Regions from separate parts of the Homo sapiens genome. Here region 2 is linked to region 1. Evidence: promoter capture Hi-C in 16 types of primary human blood cells and fetal thymus (Javierre and others, 2016). All regions are on one chromosome and are shown on one strand. The core of a region is centred on a gene start or on the middle of the fragment in contact, and the rest is flanking DNA. Distances in the headings are between cores, read along the strand shown.

Region 1 (3,413 bases), core at 782-3,281:
CCATATGCACATACATTAAAATGTAAGCAAATAAAAAGAGTTCTTCCAGAAAAGTTTACAATTTAAAATTCACCATGCTTTAATATTCAGTGGAAGATGCAAACTACAGTAAGAAAACTCTTTAGGAAATTAGAATGCTTGTGGACATAGCTCCTAAGTATTTCAATTGCTGCAGGGAGACTTTTGGTAATGTAGCAATTACTTCTTTTGAAATAAACTAGATCTGTGCTGTTCAATATGATAGTCAACAGCCACTTAAGGCTAGAGTATTTGAAATGTGGCTAGTCTGATTTGAGATACGCTGTCACACCAGATTGTGAAGACAGAATAAAAGAAAGTGTAAAATATCTAATCAGCAATTGCTTTGATTACATATTGAACTGATAACATTTTGGACAAATTGGGTCAAATACTAAAATTTCATGTTTCGTTTATTAATGTGGCTACTTAAAAACTTCAAATTTCTCATGTCCTCACATCAAGACTGGAAAAAAACTCTTAAATTACATCTGTGTCTTGCATTATATTTCTGTTGGACATCGCTGCTATAGACATGTTTTTAACAGCTGAAACAACTCTTGGCGTCTGAGAAATGTTTGTGTGTGTCTGGGTTGGAGGGGACGGCTGTACACAGCAACAGTTACCTAGTTACCTGCTGGTTGAGGTCAGCGCCCGTTTGCAGCTGCCAGAGAAGAAAGCAAGCAAGGCCGCTTCCTGCGGCTAAGTGGACAGGCGACTGCTTGCAGGGATCCGGGGGTGCGTTGACCGAGGCCCCTGTCTCCAGCAAATGCTTCAGACCATCCACCTGCAGGAAGAGAACAGATCCAGCACCCTTCCCACCTTTGTCCAGTCCCGCGCCCCTCCGGGCTGGAAACCTCCCCGCCCTTCACAACCAGCTCTGACCAGGCAGCGCCCAGTGGTCCGTCCCCGCATTAACGAGAAGACGAATCTAGAAGCTTGAGCCTGCAGGACAAAAGCTCGGGCTCTGTGAGCCCGAATCTCACCTCGGGGTTGCAATCCAGCAACAGCATTTCCCGCCTAAGGCAGATGACAAGAGTCCTTGGAAGTGCAGAGAGGTGAGACACTCGCCGCACCCCGACAGGTAAGAATGCGCAGGCTGGCCCTAGCACGGGAGAATTTAAAGACCGCTGGGACTTCCGGGCCGGCCCTTGGCAGCCGCGCCCCAGCTCCGGTTACGCCCGAGCAGCCTAATCCTCAACGACCCGGACCCTGTCCAGCCCCGCCACGGCCGCACGTACACAAACACTGGCACGTGGAGCCCGGCGCCGGGGGCAGGGGGAGGGGGCGGGCGCGCGAGGCCATCCGCCGATTGGCCAGCTGTGGATGCGTCAGGCCCTCCCACCTCGGGGCGGGGCCCGCGGCGGCCCCACGGAGCCTCAGCGCGCGTGCGCAGGGTAAGTCAGTGGGCGTGAGAGGACTGGAGTAGGAGCGGGTGGGGCTCCGCGGCCGCCATGAGGCGCGCTGAGTTTGACACGTCTCCCGGTAGTGCGCCCGCCCTTTAATCCTTACGGAGAAGCGGGAGTTTCGGCTGCAGGTTTTGGCTCTGCCGGCGCGCACGTAACCAGGAAACTGGGAGCCACGCGCAGCTCCCCGTCGACGCCGCCTTCAGAAGCCGCTGTGCACTGCGCTGCTGCCGCCTCGGCGCCGGGGAACGCAAGTTCCTTTACCTCGCGCGCAGTCGCCCGCCTCCCAACCCGGGAGGTGAAGGCGGGGACGGCGAGCGCGAACTCGAGGGGATGGCTGTCCCGAGTGGCAACGGCCGAGCCCGGCCCGCGCAGGGACCCTTGTGGAGGGGCCCTCGGGGAGAGGCCGCAGCACGCTGGGGTCGTCACGCTGGTCCACGCCGGGCTCTCCTCCCGGGAGAGCGGACCCGGCCGCGTGCGATTCGGACCCGCGGGGCTGGTGAAGCCGCTGTCCGGCCCCGCGGGTGCTGTCGGGCGTGCGTCACTGCTTTTTGTAGAACATGACCTGACTTCCGATGGCAGCTACTGACGTCAGAGCTGCTCCCTAGACTCTCCCTAAGCGTCTTTCCAGAAGGATCTGCTTAGAAACCAAAGCTCCAGCCGAGTGTTTCTTTTCCCCTACATTTTTAGTGATTCCCTTCTGTTGATGCCTTTGAAAGCTCGGAGAAATAAATACGTTTATTGTTATGCTGTTAGAAAACAAGTTCATGCTTGTCCTCTAAAGATAAGTGGTCTTTTCATTCTACTTTTTGTTTTGTAGTAAGAGCCATAAAATTTGCAATCGCAAGTTTATGTTGTTATACTTAGTTACCCAAGGGGTAGTTTTAAGCATTTTTATTCATATGAATATTTGAATATAAATGTGTGTTCAAATATATAGAATCGTTCTTATATTCCACATTTTTAATATTTAAACTATTCACAATATCTTTTAATGATGTTTAAAGAACGGCAGTGTAGAGATACTGTTGTCAGATTTGTGAGGTGAGCACACGTTGATATTGCCAGTTTCGCTTTTGTTTATCAATTCAATAAGCACTGCTTTTTAAAACACGTGTTGAAGCTTCAGGTTTGCACAGAAGTTCATTTTCAGGAATTCCTAACTAATAAAGGGTATCAGACACGTTCTTACAGTTTTGAACATAAATACTGCAGTTAGCATATGTAGTGGGATATTTGTGTGGTGAAAGTGCCTCCATATTTCATATCTTTTCTTTGAAACAAGATTCTGTTCAGTATGCATTAAGTGGTAGTTATTTTTTAACTTCCTGTTACATACGTAAATTTCATAAGGAAAGGAAATTTGGGGAGTCGTTACAGCTTTTCTCCCTTTAATCACAGCGTACCTGTCCATTGCTCACATTGTTTTCAGAAAAAAAAGTTGTATCTCAGCTGGATATCTGACTTGACTTTAGTAATGGGCCTAGAAACTATAAACTGAACAAAGCTTATAATGCACAAAAACAGGATAAGTACATTTGGGGGACAATATCTTACTGGCAAGTAACTGGAGTTTCACCAGGCGTGTAGCAGGTGGGATCAATTTTCTAAAACGGAAGATGATCTAAGATGCATATTTTATAGGCGTTCTCCTAAGCAGTGCTAATTCTACATGTTTTAATTGCTGGTAGATGCGTTTCCAGAACGAGGATGCCATTTACAGCGAGTGTTAAAAAAAACGTTGGATGATGAGTAAGTGACCGAATAGATGAGAGATGTGTGGGCTGAATCTTGAGTAGTAAGAGTTTGCTAAGGAGTCCAGGAAGGGAAGAGTATTTCTAAGAAGTGTAAAATATCTTCCAGTATTGAGAGCACTATATGTAGTTCAGTCTGGGGGCAGTGTGTGATACACATGCAGCTGTGATGTGAAATAGAGAAAGGCCGACAAATGAGAAAGTATTAACCACTAACGTCTATTCCAGTTTATTA
Region 2 (3,004 bases), core at 271-2,770, 1.9 Mb after region 1:
TTCTCTGTTTTACATACACAATGCCCCCATTTTTCTTTGAAGAAATATGGCTAAAGTTTGAAAACCACTGATGACATATTCAGAACTTGGGTTTTATCATTTTTAAGTGTCTAAGCCCTGGTACACTGAAAACAGTATAAGGAAATCACTAGATGATTCCCTCCCAAATCACCTTTTTGTACATTTGTCTCTAGCTTCCAAGTTATATACATTGCACATGATAGTCCCACTTCAGTAAAATGGTAGTCTTTAGTGTATTTACTACTTATATTGTTTAGTTTGGTTGCTTCCTAAGACCTCCAAGGATTCTGATTCTATTCAATAAAGTTTCAAATTCACAAAGTATTTCTGATTGCTTCTTAAGTACTGGCATATGTAATCTCTAGTTTTTACTCAAAATGTCCTGTATCCAACCCTTTGTGTTTAGTATTACTTTTTTTTTTTTTTTGACACGGAGTCTCACTCTGTCACCCAGGCTGGAGTGCAGTGGCACAATCATAGCTCACTGCAACCTCCACCTCCCAGGTTCAAGCGATTCTCCTATCTCAGCCTCCCAAGTAGCTGGGGTGACAGGCACGCACCACCACGCCCAGCTAATGTTGTAGTTTTATAAGATAAAGTTTCACCATTTTGGCCAGGCTGGTCTCAAACTCCTGACTTCAGGTGATCCGCCTGCCTTGGCCTCCCAAAGTGCTGGCATTACAGTTGTGGGCCACCATGCCCAACCTAGCATTACTTTTCTTTTTTCCCTTCAAAGTTAAAAGTCCATTTAGTTTGGGGCCTTGTCTACTCTTTTTCTTGCTAGATGAATAGCAAAGGAACAGAAAAAGAACTTTAAAAACTAATAATTTTCAGATAATGACTTTTAAAGGAGAAAAATCGGCTGGGCACAGTGGCTCACGCCTGTAATCCCAGCAATTTGGGAGGCTGAGGCAGGTGGATCACAAGATCAGGAGTTCGAGACCAACCTGACCAACATGGTGAAACCCCGTCTCTACTAAAAATACAAAAAAATTAGCTGGGTGTAGTGATGCACGCCTGTAATCCCAGCTACTCAGGAGGCTGAGGCAGGAGAATTGCTTGACCCCAAGAGGCCGAGGTTGCAGTGAGCCGAGATCACGCCACTGCACTCCAGCCTGGGTGACAGAGCAAGACTCCCTCTGTCTCAAAAAAAAAACAAACAAAAAAACAAAACAAAAACAAAAGGAGGAAAATCGAGAGATATTAAAATTAAAGTTGGTAGTAAGAAATGGTTCTAACTGGATGGCAACTAAGCTGTGTGCAGGGATGCCAAAGAAATATGATTGATATTTTTCTTGGGGAGGAATAGTTGGGCAATAAATGGCTTAACCCTTCATTCAACTTGAACATTTTGTTCTAGTAGAAAGTGAAATAGTTTATTCATCAATCACAGAAAATATTATTTAAAAATCATGCAGGAATGGATAACCAATGTCTAGAAAGTAGGTCAATATAGGACTTCAGCACAATTTTTGAGGACAAAGTCCACAAAGTAGTAACACAATACCTGTAGGACTGACCTGATTCCCAATTGCGGCTTGTTTTTGTTACTTTCTCACTGCTGTTACTCAAAAATCTAAACAGCAAGTAGAAATTTGTACCAAGAAAAGCTGCACTTGGCAGGGAAAACATAATTCAAATTGGAGCAGGCTCCTGATAATACATATCAAAGGCCTTAAAGTTACACATATCCCTATGACAATTATCCTAGCCAATGACAGCAGTGACAGGCTCCAAGAATTTAGGTCAAAAACTCATGACAGTATCATTCTTACAAGTCAACTAATTTTACCATTAAAAAAAAAATCTCATTCTAACATCAAGAAAAATCTTGATGTCTCAGGAAATCGTCTCCCCTCACTCATCTGAAAAAAGCAGTATATCCCATCTTGGTAGCCGACTTTATTCACTCAACTTGATTATACACTATTTTAGGCAGGTGTGTTTGGTTTTTTGGTTTTGGGGGGTTTTTTGTGCAGATTTCTTTTGTGTGTGTATGGTCTTTTTACAAAGTTCAACTGCATCCATATGGGATGATTCACTAGTTGAGGATATTCAAGATATGCAAGTATTAGAAGCATTAATAATAGAAGAGCCTCTGAAGTGACTCATTTCAAGGAGGCTTTAGAAAGATGCGGTCACTTAATCTGGTAAAAAATCACGTTCTGGGAGGGATTTTCAGAAATTTCAGCATATAGAGAAGTGACAAGGATAATAAGCAGTACAACATACTTGAGCTTGGGTTTTGAAATCAGATATGGGCTTGAATTATCTGACCGAATTACTCTGTGTAAGTTTCTCCATCTGAAAAGTAGGCCAAATGAGAAGAGCTCCTTGTAAGAGGAATAAGAATATATAAGTGAACCATGGGATATCTGCACCATGCCGGGCACTTTGAATGTATCATCTCATCTAACTGCCATGCTCTATGAGACAGCTATTAGTCCTATTTCACAGACGAAGTAAGGTTAAAAGGTTAAATTCCCAGAGGTTACATGTCTAGTAAGAGACAGCCAAGATTCACTCTCAATAATAGAATTCTAAAATATGCATTTCTCTTAAACCAGGATTCTTTAAATGTTATTAACCAAGAGCATTTTTCTAGGTTTTTAAATAGGATTATCATAAATGTACACTAAACAACTTCCTCCACATCAAAAGTCACTATAAAACATTCTCAATAACCTTCATAGTAACTTGAAACAAGCCAATTTAGGAAATTACCAAACCACCTAATTGGATATATTATATAAATTTATTTGTTCGTTGTAATTTTTTGCTTTTCTGATAATCATTATCCCACAAAATACACATTCCAAGACTGAGGAAAGTGAGGTAACTAAAAGTGCTTTCACAATACATTCATGTTATTGTGTCCCGCAATCTATAAAGGCAACCCACTTACAGTATATGGATTTTAGCTTTGGTATCCAATTAAATATCCTCAAAAATGAATCATTTTTAAAGGTTATATGGTAAAATT

Evidence for each region. Contacts are between HindIII fragments. The CHiCAGO score rates a contact against its expected background, and 5 or more counts as called.
Region 2: a fragment that was not itself captured here is called in contact with the fragment with the promoter of LRP2BP in region 1 in 2 of 17 cell types (fetal thymus and naive CD4 T cells); the score reaches 9.7 in fetal thymus.

What each region holds. Positions count from the first base shown.
Region 1 is chr4:185,394,542-185,397,954 of GRCh38, reverse strand. LRP2BP (LRP2 binding protein) reads left to right here and starts at 2,031. Exons shown (of 9, transcript NM_001377440.1): 1 at 2,031-3,176. ANKRD37 (ankyrin repeat domain 37) reads right to left here and starts at 1,114. Exons shown (of 5, transcript NM_181726.4): 1 at 1,005-1,114; 2 at 653-805. The coding sequence starts at 1,031. RefSeq lists silencers at 1,129-1,498, 1,719-1,908 and an enhancer at 1,529-1,598. The HindIII fragment of the contact is 1,591 bases long and covers 959-2,549 here.
Region 2 is chr4:183,448,818-183,451,821 of GRCh38, reverse strand. CDKN2AIP (CDKN2A interacting protein) reads right to left here. Exons shown (of 3, transcript NM_017632.4): 3 at 2,758-3,004. Among named protein-coding and RNA genes, the nearest start is that of CDKN2AIP, 5.7 kb to the right of the region's middle. The HindIII fragment of the contact is 4,907 bases long and covers 1-3,004 here.